Linked DNA regions of Homo sapiens: region 2 is linked to region 1. Evidence: promoter capture Hi-C in human tissues and cell types (Jung and others, 2019). All regions are on one chromosome and are shown on one strand. Each heading gives the region's core, a stretch centred on a gene start or on the middle of the fragment in contact. The rest is flanking DNA. Distances are from core to core; before and after follow the strand shown.

What was found. Contacts are between HindIII fragments. The study calls those that stand out against the background at their distance.
Region 2: a contact is called between a fragment that was not itself captured here and the fragment with the promoter of FGFBP1 in region 1, in 1 of the 25 tissues and cell types used here (IMR-90 fibroblasts).

The regions. Positions count from the first base shown.
Region 1 is chr4:15,936,534-15,942,031 of GRCh38, reverse strand. FGFBP1 (fibroblast growth factor binding protein 1) reads left to right here and starts at 3,292. Exons shown (of 3, transcript NM_005130.5): 1 at 3,292-3,345; 2 at 3,561-3,781; 3 at 5,380-5,498. The coding sequence starts at 5,400. The HindIII fragment of the contact is 13,154 bases long and covers 1-5,498 here.
Region 2 is chr4:15,457,596-15,462,765 of GRCh38, reverse strand. No RefSeq gene overlaps it. Among named protein-coding and RNA genes, the nearest start is that of CC2D2A, 9.7 kb to the left of the region's middle. The HindIII fragment of the contact is 4,456 bases long and covers 1-3,652 here.

The DNA.
Region 1 (5,498 bases), core at 2,043-4,542:
CTGAGGAGACAGCAAAAGGATGAGCATTGCCTGGGGTTGTAGGGGATGGAGTGGTAAGTAGGCAGAACACAGAGAATTTTTAGGGCAGCTAAACTATTCTGTATGATACCATAGTGGTGGGTACCGTCATTATACCTTTCTTAGTTAATTGATATTATGCATGTCATTATACATTTCTCAAAACCCAAAGAATGTACAGCACTTAGAGTGAACCTAATGGAAATGATGGACATTGGGTGATAATGACATGTTAATGTAGGTTTATTACTTACAGCAAATGTACTACCCTGGTTCATGATGTTGAAGGTAGGGGAGACTGTGCCTGCGTGTGGGGAGGGGTATATGGGACTTTTGATACTTTCCACTCAATTGTGCTATGAGCATAAAACTACTCTAAAAAATAAAGTCTGTCAATAATAATAATAATAATAATAAAAACTAGAACAACAGGTAAATCCTAAGCAAGTCTGAATAAAGTATGGACTTCAATTGACAATAATGTATCAATGTTTGTCAGTTGTGACAAACGTACCATAGTAATGTAACAGGTAAATAGGGAACCCAGGTGAGAATTGGAATGATAACTATCTTTGCAATTCTCTGTAAACCTAAAATTATTCTAAAACTTTAAAAAAAAATTTAAAGGGAAGGTATGAAGGGGCAAAGAGAGGAGAATTCCACAATTTATCAGTGTATGCGTACACTGCCTCATTTGTGTTTAGAATGATAGCAGCGGCCTCCAGATAATTCTTCTCTAATTGTGTGTCAGACACTGTGCTTAGTCCCCCTAAGCCTTGCCTCCACATCTGTCCCATGAGGACCTGGGCCGACTTTCCTCCTGGGGTTCTTGTGCAATGGGCCTTTATGTACTCATCCCCAAGAATTACAGAGCCCCTCAGTGCTGGGAGCATGGGGAGGTGGAGGGGCCTGAAGTTACTGGAACCTGCTATGCACTGCGTGGCTGGGGCTCCATGTCCTCTGCAGTCTCCCCAGAGCCACTGGAAAAGGACATCGTTTCCTTAGTTCATGGAGATACGAAGAAAGCTTGGGAAACAGCCTTAGCACAGTGCCTGGCACGCTGTAAGCTCATTGGAGGAAGTGTGCCATTTCTCCCCGTGGACATTCTTAAAGATGTGGGTGGCATGCAGGGCGTCAGGAGCCAATGACACCAACAGAGAGGGGCTCGCATTGGAGCCTGGCCTTGAAGGATGAGGCGGTGTGTGCCAGGCAGAGAAGGAAGGGAAGGGGATCCCAAGTGCAGGGAACAGCAGAGGCAAAGGCAGGAAGTGGGCGCATGCATGGAGTATCTGCAAATGGTGGGACAGGGTTTCAGTGTGGCCAGATTGCAGTGTGTGTGTGCATGTGTGTGTGTGTCTGTCTCTGTGTGTGTGTCAGTGTCACTGTGTGTGATTCTGTGTGTGTGTGCCTATGAGTATGTGTGTGAATGTGTCTAGGTGTCAGTATGTGTGTGTCTCTGTGTGTCTATGAGTGTGGTGTCTTTGAGTGTGTTTGTGTGTGTTTGAGTGTGTCAGTGTGTGTTTGTGTGTGTCTTTGTATGTGTGTCAGTGTGTATGTGTATTTATGTGTCTGCGTGTGAGTACCTGGAAATGAGGTTGGAAGGGCAGGATGAGCCAAGGAGGTGACTGCCCCACAGCCTGCTCTGATGCTGTGCTGCTGAGTCTAGAAGGGAAAGAGCAAAGCAGACGCTGGGATGGGAGTCACAGGAAGGGGAAGGGCCACAAGGAGCCAGTGGGGAATGTGCAGTGTTACCTGGCAAAGCTCAGAGAAGCACTTCCCAGAAAGACCCCGGAGTCCACATGTTTCCTTGTAAATATGTTTTGTGTTCCAACTGCAATCTGCCTCCAGAAAGAATCTGCCTGCCTCCCAAGGATCAAGTAGAATTTTCCATTTTGTAGGAGACTCCCCTTGTTGAGCAAAGCAGCTTTGCCTTGCCTATGTCCAAATAATCCTCCAAAATACCGCATGAGAGAGCCTGTTCGTGGAGGTCAGGGCCTCAGCGGGGTGTTTGTGAGGATAGTGAGGACGGACCCCTGGGTGAGGCAATTTTAGGAGAGAGGCACACAGCTTCAGAAATGGCTTCTTCCAACAGATTCATGCAGAGACTGAGCCTCTGAGTAAATTGGTCAACATCTATAGCTATGACCACGGAATTCTCAAACAGGTGGATCGTTCATAAAATCCAAACACAGTTACAAGTTTTGGCCTGCATAGTGTTGAGCTACAGCTTTATTTTTAGAAAATTTTAATTAGCTGCCAACCAATTTCATATAAACACATCTGGATTTGGGGATGTCATTTTAAAAATCAGACAGTGTGACAATACTGAGCCTAATCCCTGCATTTTCTCAGTCAATTGGAGATGAGTGTTGACCTCTATGGAGGCAGAGACTCTCTAGTTTGCCACAGTCCCCATCACTCCCTATTGCCTTATCTCAAACCCAAAAGTCAGTTGCCATTTAATATCACACTAAACAATAGTTTTCTTATGGCTGAATTAAGGAAAAGTGAACAATTTCTTCTTCTGAAAATCTATGAAAGGTGAGGTGATAATATATAATGAGGGCCACATCTTCCCTGTAGAAGTGAGTTTCTTTTTAAATGCTGCATATGTAAATAACAAATGTCTGTTTTCAAAGTATACAACTTAAGACCCTGTCATGAGGCAAAACGATTCTGCTCCACTTTATGTTAACAGCTTAGCCCAGTAAAAATTTAGTATGCAGCTATAAAGGAGACGTTGTTATTGTCAGCACACTGCAAATGGATGATGGGAGAGGCTAAGTGGTTTGGGCATAGCACTCAGCTAAACACATGCTGTGGCCAGGATTCCACCTGGGTCATTCTGGTGTGGGACTGTGCCTGTAGCAGGCAGGGCAGCCTGAGCTCTCTGAATGAGACCTGAAGGTAAGTATTTACAACAGTAATCTTATATTAAAAATTCCCTCTTTACCAGCCTCTCAGAGCCTGGTAGAATTCCCTGATAAAAAAGAGGGAATTTTTAATGTAAATTTCCCTGCCTCTAGAATTAGGGTATCCTCTGCTTATGTAGTAACTTCAGATGGAAAAAGGAACTCAGACACTACGAAAACTTCGGCAACTTCAGTCACCCATTCAACAAAGATTTATTGAGAGTGGCAGGCAGGAAGAGATCAGACCATGGATGTAGAGAATCTCACTTTTAATTTTGAGATGTTCCTTTTCCTGCCTCTGTGAACTTGGACAAGCTCTTACATATCTCCAGAACCAATTCCTGCTTTTGTAAAAGGGGAGGAATCATTGCACTCCCTACTAGAGCGGATGTGATGAGGGAAAAGGAGAACTCAGGTAAAATGGGCTCAGTAGTTTGGCAGCTCGGATCATGTCATTATAGTTATTTTACTCCTCCATAGACATCACTGCTGGGGTCCTCTCCCCATCAAGGAGGGTCACTGTGAGGCTGAGTTGTCCTCCTATCCTGGCCACAGGGTGGACAGGGAAGGGCCTAGAGGAAGCGTTTGATGGCATGCAGGTAACCCCCCTTTTCACTGGATTACATCCAGCACTTTCCCTGCAGGAACCGGCTCCCTCGGAGGGGCGTGGCTGGGAGGAGCTGTGAGTAACGTGCCACAGTGTTGTAAAAACCCAGTGAGTGTTATAAAAACCCAGTCAGCCTGGCTCCTGTTGAATAGTCTACCCCCCTTGCACTCTACCTGACACAGCTGCAGCCTGCAATTCACTCGCACTGCCTGGGATTGCACTGGATCCGTGTGCTCAGAACAAGGTAAGAGCCTCGCTCCTTTAACAGCTTTATTACCTGCTGCCACTTCTCACTCCACCAAGGGCCTGGAGTTCCTTGGGCCTGCATTCCATCATGGGCAGGTGGGGGCTGAGCCCCAGGGCCGTGAGAAATGACTGGGTGTTTTTCTGGCATATCCAGTCTCCTCTTCACCATTTATTGCTGTTCTCTGCCCTTTTGTGATTGTCTTTCTCCTTCTTAACCCTAGAAGATGGCCAACTTCTAGGGTAGAAATCAGATCAGGACCATTTCCTGGGTCTGCCTCTTTTTATAAAAAATTCTGTGTTTTGTTTTAAATGGAGCACAAATAATACAAATCATCTTATCATTATGTGTTATATGAAACTAAATTGTCATTGTTCATAGTTGTTTTTCTTATTCTTTGGCAATGTTTTTAAAGGGCAGAGTAAATGTGAAAAGCAAAAAGTGATCAACCAGGGGTGACAGAAAGGAATAAGGAGATTGATCTGGCTACCCATACCAGCTTTGAACTTGCCCACTATGAGATCCTGAGCAATTTACTTACCTGTCTGAGCCTTAAGAGTCAGAGCTGTCACCTGGGATGACATATTAATAGCTACCTGGAAGAGCTCTTGTGTGGATTTCACAAGGTGGGAATCAAACCCTAGACCAGTACTTAGCACACAGGAGGTGTCATATAGAAACTGACTTCTCTTCTTCTGTTAAGCATGGGTTTTTATTGTACACATGATCAGATTCATGCAGTTCAGTGTGACGTTGGTGTTCATCCTATTGATTCAATGATTTCTCATGATCCTTGTCTTCGATCTTGTAGTGTGAACTATCTGGTTGAAATTCACCTCTCTCCACCCTGATTCACTTTGCCCAGGCAAATCAGACAACCACCCCACCTCACACCTTTCCTTAAACTCTTACTTCCCCACAAAAAGCTCCCCCACCCCCACAACCCCACCCACCCCACCCAAACCCCAGGCATGTTCAACTCTGGGTCAACATCACCTTTCATGATGCTTACCACATCCTTTCTCATTTTGGGCATCTGTCATGTCTTTTCTCATTTTGGGCATCTGTGTCCATATGGAGTCATGAGATAGAAATCCAGCCCTTTGGAGCTGAAAGTTTGGAGCAGTAACTTGTTTCATATCAGAAACAGAGATGACGGGATAGATTCCCTGATCAATGCTATTTAAATTCTCCCAAAGAGTGGTCTCTAAGCTCTTTCAAATCTGAGGCTTTCTCAATCATGGTGATTTCTTCAACACCTAGTCTGGTGGGGGGCATATAGTAGGTGCTCAGTAAATGCTTGTTGAATGAGTGAATGAAAGAGTGAGGAGTGAGCAGATGCAGGAGTTAATGAGTGAATAAATGATAAATGAGAGTTCGTGAGGCTCCAAAGAGTGGTACTTTTGTGACACTCAAGACTCAAGTCAAGTGGAAATGTGAGTAGACAGGCTGTTTGTCTAGTGACTCCAGGAGCCAGAAGCGTTCTTGGTCTACTCTGAAATCATGTAGGCACCTGTCAGGGTAGGGGGAGGCCAGCGTGTAGTCCTGCACAGCTGAACTGCTGCCTGCCACTGACTCACTTGCCTTTTGTCAAACAGGTGAACGCCCAGCTGCAGCCATGAAGATCTGTAGCCTCACCCTGCTCTCCTTCCTCCTACTGGCTGCTCAGGTGCTCCTGGTGGAGGGGAAAAAAAAAGTGAAGAATGGACTTCACAGC
Region 2 (5,170 bases), core at 175-2,674, 480 kb after region 1:
ACATTTATTTCCTGCAGTCCTAGATGCTGAAGTTTGAGAACAAAGAGTGACATTGTCAGGTTCTGGTGAAGGTTCCCTTCCTGGCTTGTAGATGGCCACCTTCTATCTGTGTCCTCACAGGCTAGAGATCAAGTGAGCCCTGCTCTCTTTCTCTTATAAGGACACTAATCCTATCATGGACGCCCCACCCTCATGATCTCGTCTGAACCTAATCACCTTCCCAAGACCCCACCTCCAAATGCCATCACATTACGGGGTAGGTCTTCAACATATGCATTTTGCAGGTAACACAAACATTCAGTATGTGACACATGTATACCTAAAAAAAAATAAGCAAATGCATTCAATGCCTTTGAGGATAATGCCACTAAAGTATGATGCATTTGAAGCCTCTTTGGGAGACTAGGATACTGTACAACACTAAAAATTATAGAGCCCGATATGAGACTACTATGCTATATTCTCTTTGGGGTAAAGCTGCAGTGGTGCATTATTTAGGTCAATAAATGGCTAAAATATGCCTTTCACACTTGTACATGTGAAACACAATCGTAGCTTTAGGTGAATGTGTCATTTTTACTGGTTCTTTGAATTTTATACTACTTTTGATTGTAGCTGATTCATTCTCTCTGAAAGAAAAATTTATCACAAGGGAAAACCTGACTAAAATAAGGTTCAAGTTGGACACTGAAGAATGACTTTTGAATCATAAATTTTATAAAACCATGCCTTTCAATTTGGATTTATCTTTTCCAGTTTACTGAATTACATACCTCTCTCCCTCAAACATAACTTGAACTCCAGCAAATTAGAACCTCTTGGGTTTATAGTAAATAGAGAGAAACACTTATTGACTCAGATACATTGACTGTGTAGCCCATTTTTATTTTATAGATACTAAAGCATTTAATTTTCTTCCTCTAGTGCTATGATTTTCAATCTGTTTTGAATTGCACACTTTCTTCTTATTTGCTGCATTTCACAACATTCTCACTTTCTAAGAGAGCTGTTGGAGCTATAGAGAATAAAATGCTGTAAGACTCATTTTATTTAGAGAGTCATGTCATAATTTGAATTAACTAGAGATGCTCTTACATATCAGAGAAAACTGCTGCTCCAGTATAAGTAGTGAATTTTTGTTATTTTTGTTGAAAAGGATATTTTTCTATAATTTTTATATTCTTTTCTCTCCAGCTACTTCCCTTAAATGCATCTCACTGGCAGGACCTGCTTCACCAGCTTAGTGTACAAATATCATCAGAACTCTTTCATTTTCTGTGTAGTTGCTTGAAAATATTCTTGCCCTTTTTAGCAGGGCATGTAATGTCTCCGTCTTGAAGCTTCATTGCTCTCTAGAATTGCTCATAAATCTTGAGGGGCTCACTTGATTCAAAGGGTAACCCTTTGTGCAAATGCCAATGGAGAGAGAAGTAGCTAGTCAATTACTGCTGGAAATGGTTCCCAAGAAGTCTAAGCAATTTTGCTCTCAGCTACATTGATGTTTCTGTTAGTCATACCAGCTGCCTCACATTAGAGATTCCAGGTTTACCCTCTTTCAGGTTATACTAGTGCTTTTCAACCAATTTTGACCCTCTTGGACATTTGGCAAAGTTTGGGGATATTTTTGGTTGTCACAACTTGGTGGGGGGAAGGGAGTGCTACTGGCATCTCATGGGTAGAAGCCAGGAATACTGCTAAACATCCTACATTGCATAGAACTGTCCCCGCACTGCCATTCCAACATAAAAAAATTATCTGTCCACGTATGTCAAGGATGCTGAGGTTGAGAAACCCTGTTTTTTCCAATATGATTTACACCCATATGATCTGCTACTGCTTCCAGAATTTAGCAGGTTTTAAGACCTCAATCCCAGGTTACATTTAAACCAGGAATGGACCCTCCTGGAGCCCAACATCCTCTGAGTTCTAGTTTGAACCATAGTCACCAATCCACAGCCCACAAACTCCCTTTCCTCATGTTGCATTCCCCTCCATAGAGGCAAGTATCCTTTTTGGCTGATCAATCTCAGTTTTAACCAACCAAGTTTATCACTGAGTTTTTAATGCTATTGAAATTCAGCAGAAAAGAAATTAGTATCAAAATTTCTTTTTCCTCTAGGAGGTTTCTTGGCTCCCTTTGCAGATTTATTCAATGTATGTCAAAGAGCACAAGGGGCATTTTGAAAATTGGGGAGCATCAGTCATGCCACAGAAAATGATGTTATATTCCCATTTTCCAGGGCAGTGGGTGTCCACTTGCCTTACATTTGCATAATCAAGATGAGTTGCTCACAGGACTCTCCATTTGAAACAAGATCTTACCCAAGGAGACTTACTGAGCTTACTAGAGAGAGGATTAGCTGATAATACCCTCCTGATTAAAAAGTAGGTTTTGCTTTCCTACACAGCCTGATCCATCTTTCATTTTTTCATGCCCTGTGATGCCACAAATTGTACTGTATTTCCTTCCAATGCAGCAATTGCTAAAGATACTTGGGAAAAAGGCAGTTTGCTAGACTCAATATAAGAATGACCTCTCTGCTATTCCAGCTCAAGAATTTTCAACTCTTTGCTGTTTGTAGCCACAGCTCCTGGTACAGACAACTTTGCTTTACCCTCTGATGCAGAAGCTTGGGGACCTGTAGGGGTTTGGGTGCTTATATTGGTACAGAGCATAGATTGGTAAAAAAAAAAAAAAAAAAAAAAAAAGTACCCAGGAGCATCTATACTTGTTTCCTGAATTCTGCTAAATTGAGAAGCTATGTTTCCAACATCCTTAGATGGACTAGGGTATAAATAGAATTTTCATGGACTTGCCTCTGATCTCAGTCACTGTTGATGTTTTTGGAAATGCATGGCAGATTCCAAAGAACTGACTAGCAAACAGATTTCTAGAGTAAAATCCATCCATAAATTGGTAGCTGCTTGTGTTCTCACTATTTGAGAGATGGAATTTGGAGCAGAGGACAAAGGGTTGCCTGCTACTATGCATCATTCTGCTCTCTGGGGCTTGGACTCTGAGGGGCTTTGCCATACTAGAGGATTTTCCTGTCAGGGAAATATGGACACTGCCATGTACTGTCCAACTAGGGCCAAACAGAAAAACAGTAGCACTGCAAGGACCCAGCCAACTTCATGACGGTGGACTAGATTTTGTGGATCACAAGTGCCATCATATCTAGTTGCCAGCTTTTAGTAATTCTCTGTGTTATAATTTTCGCCTCTTATCTCTGACACATCTGTAAAATCTTATAATTGTTCCCTTAGAGACTCATCTATGCTGTGGGGGAATTACAGAAAGAATTTATATCCATGCTCGAGATGAGAGGGTAAAGTAAAGAAGAGTAATTTCAGTAGCAAGAATGATGGTATCAGTGGAGATTGCTAAAATTCTCAAAAGGCAAGTAAATTTTAGGAACAATGATTGGGGATCAGTGTTGAGCGTAAGTTTGCCCCTTCCTATATGGAGATTTTCTCTCCTCACTGCCAGCCTGGGTTATTTTTCCAAGGGATCCTGAGAATCACTCACGCTTTCTCCATGATACTAATGTATGCTTGAGACCTTCAAGACTCCCTCCTAATTCAAGTCTCTGCTAACACCAGAAAAGGATCCATCATCATTAACAAGCCTGCCTTCTTTCTTTATCCTTCTAGTGCTTACCACTAGCATAGCTGTTGACACATCATTTTGTCTTTCCTGCTGGGTTTCCATTGCTCAGGGAAGCTCCTGGTGCATAGCAGACACTCAGTAAATATGTTGAGTGATTGAAGGAACAAACCAACACACAAAGCAAAGCCTTCACTGAGTCCTTATATAAGGAGAAGAACTTATGACTGAGAATCTAAAAAACATATGACTGAGATCTAAAAAACACAAACTGATGACTGAGAGTCTAAAAAACACAACCTACTTTCGAATCAGCTGTGTGGATTCAAAGAGCCAGAAATGCTGCATCTGTTAAATTTGGAAAGTCGTCACTAGTAGGAGGGGGTTCCATGGGCCAGTGAAGAGGTCTTTTAGGAGTAGTAGCATTTAGTGTGAAACTGAACTGCTGGCCTCAAATCTTAAATCTGCCATTTGCTAGTTGGGTAGCAAGACAGGTAGCTTTTGGTTTTAGTTGGTGTTTAATTTCAAATTAAAATTTATCTTTCCATCAATTTATTCATCCATCTGACATTTATTTAGTGCCTGCCACATGGCAGATGTGGTGCAAAGTACTAGAGATTCAAAGATGATTAAGAAAAAATCCTCACCCTCTAGCTGTTTACCATCCAGTGAGGTTGAAACCTCTTGATATGGTTTGGTTGTGTCCCCACCCAAATTTAATCTTGAATTGTAGCTCCTATAATTCTCATGTGTTGTGGGAGGGACCCAGTGGGAGATAATTGAATTATGGGAGTGGTTTCCCCCATACTGTTCTTGTGGTAGTGAATAAGTCTCACGAGATCTGATGGTTTTATAAGGGGAGACCCCCTTCACTTGGATCTCATTCTCTCTTTTGTCTACTGCCATGTAAGATGTGCCTTTTGCCTTCTGCCATGATTGTTAGGCCTCCCCAGTCAGGTAGAACTGTGAGTCCATTAAACCTTTTTTTCTTTATAAATTACCTAGTCTTGGGTATGTCTTTATCAGCAGCGTGAAAACGGACCTCTAGTCACACTTATCCCATCAAGCTTTGCAGGAAACCACAGAGGGATTATCTGATAACGAAATGTCATTTTTACTCTAATTGTTTATGAATTACAGTGTATATGACTAAGTAGCTTTAATAAATGTATACTAGGCAATGGGAGGAGATCCACATGGAAGACAGAAGACCTTGACTCTAGTCCCATCTTAGCGACCACTGACAAGGCCCTCATCGTTTATGGATCTCTGTTTCCTCTTCTGGAATATGAGGTGGGCAGAGAAAGTTGATTTCTAAAGTTTCTCCTAGCCCGCACTTGGATTTTACATAATCTCTGGAAATGGTCTCTAATAGAGTAGTTATTGTTGCTGGCCACTAGAGGTCAGTACCTTAAAAAGTAAACTGGATTCTCCTGCCATCAAAGTATGCCTTGAAGCAAAAGCAAAATTACTGTTTTCTTATCTTGGTTAGGAAGAAACATTCCCAAAGAAACAGTTTTCTCCTTGACATATTAGAGCTTGTAAGATGACATTTCCAAACTC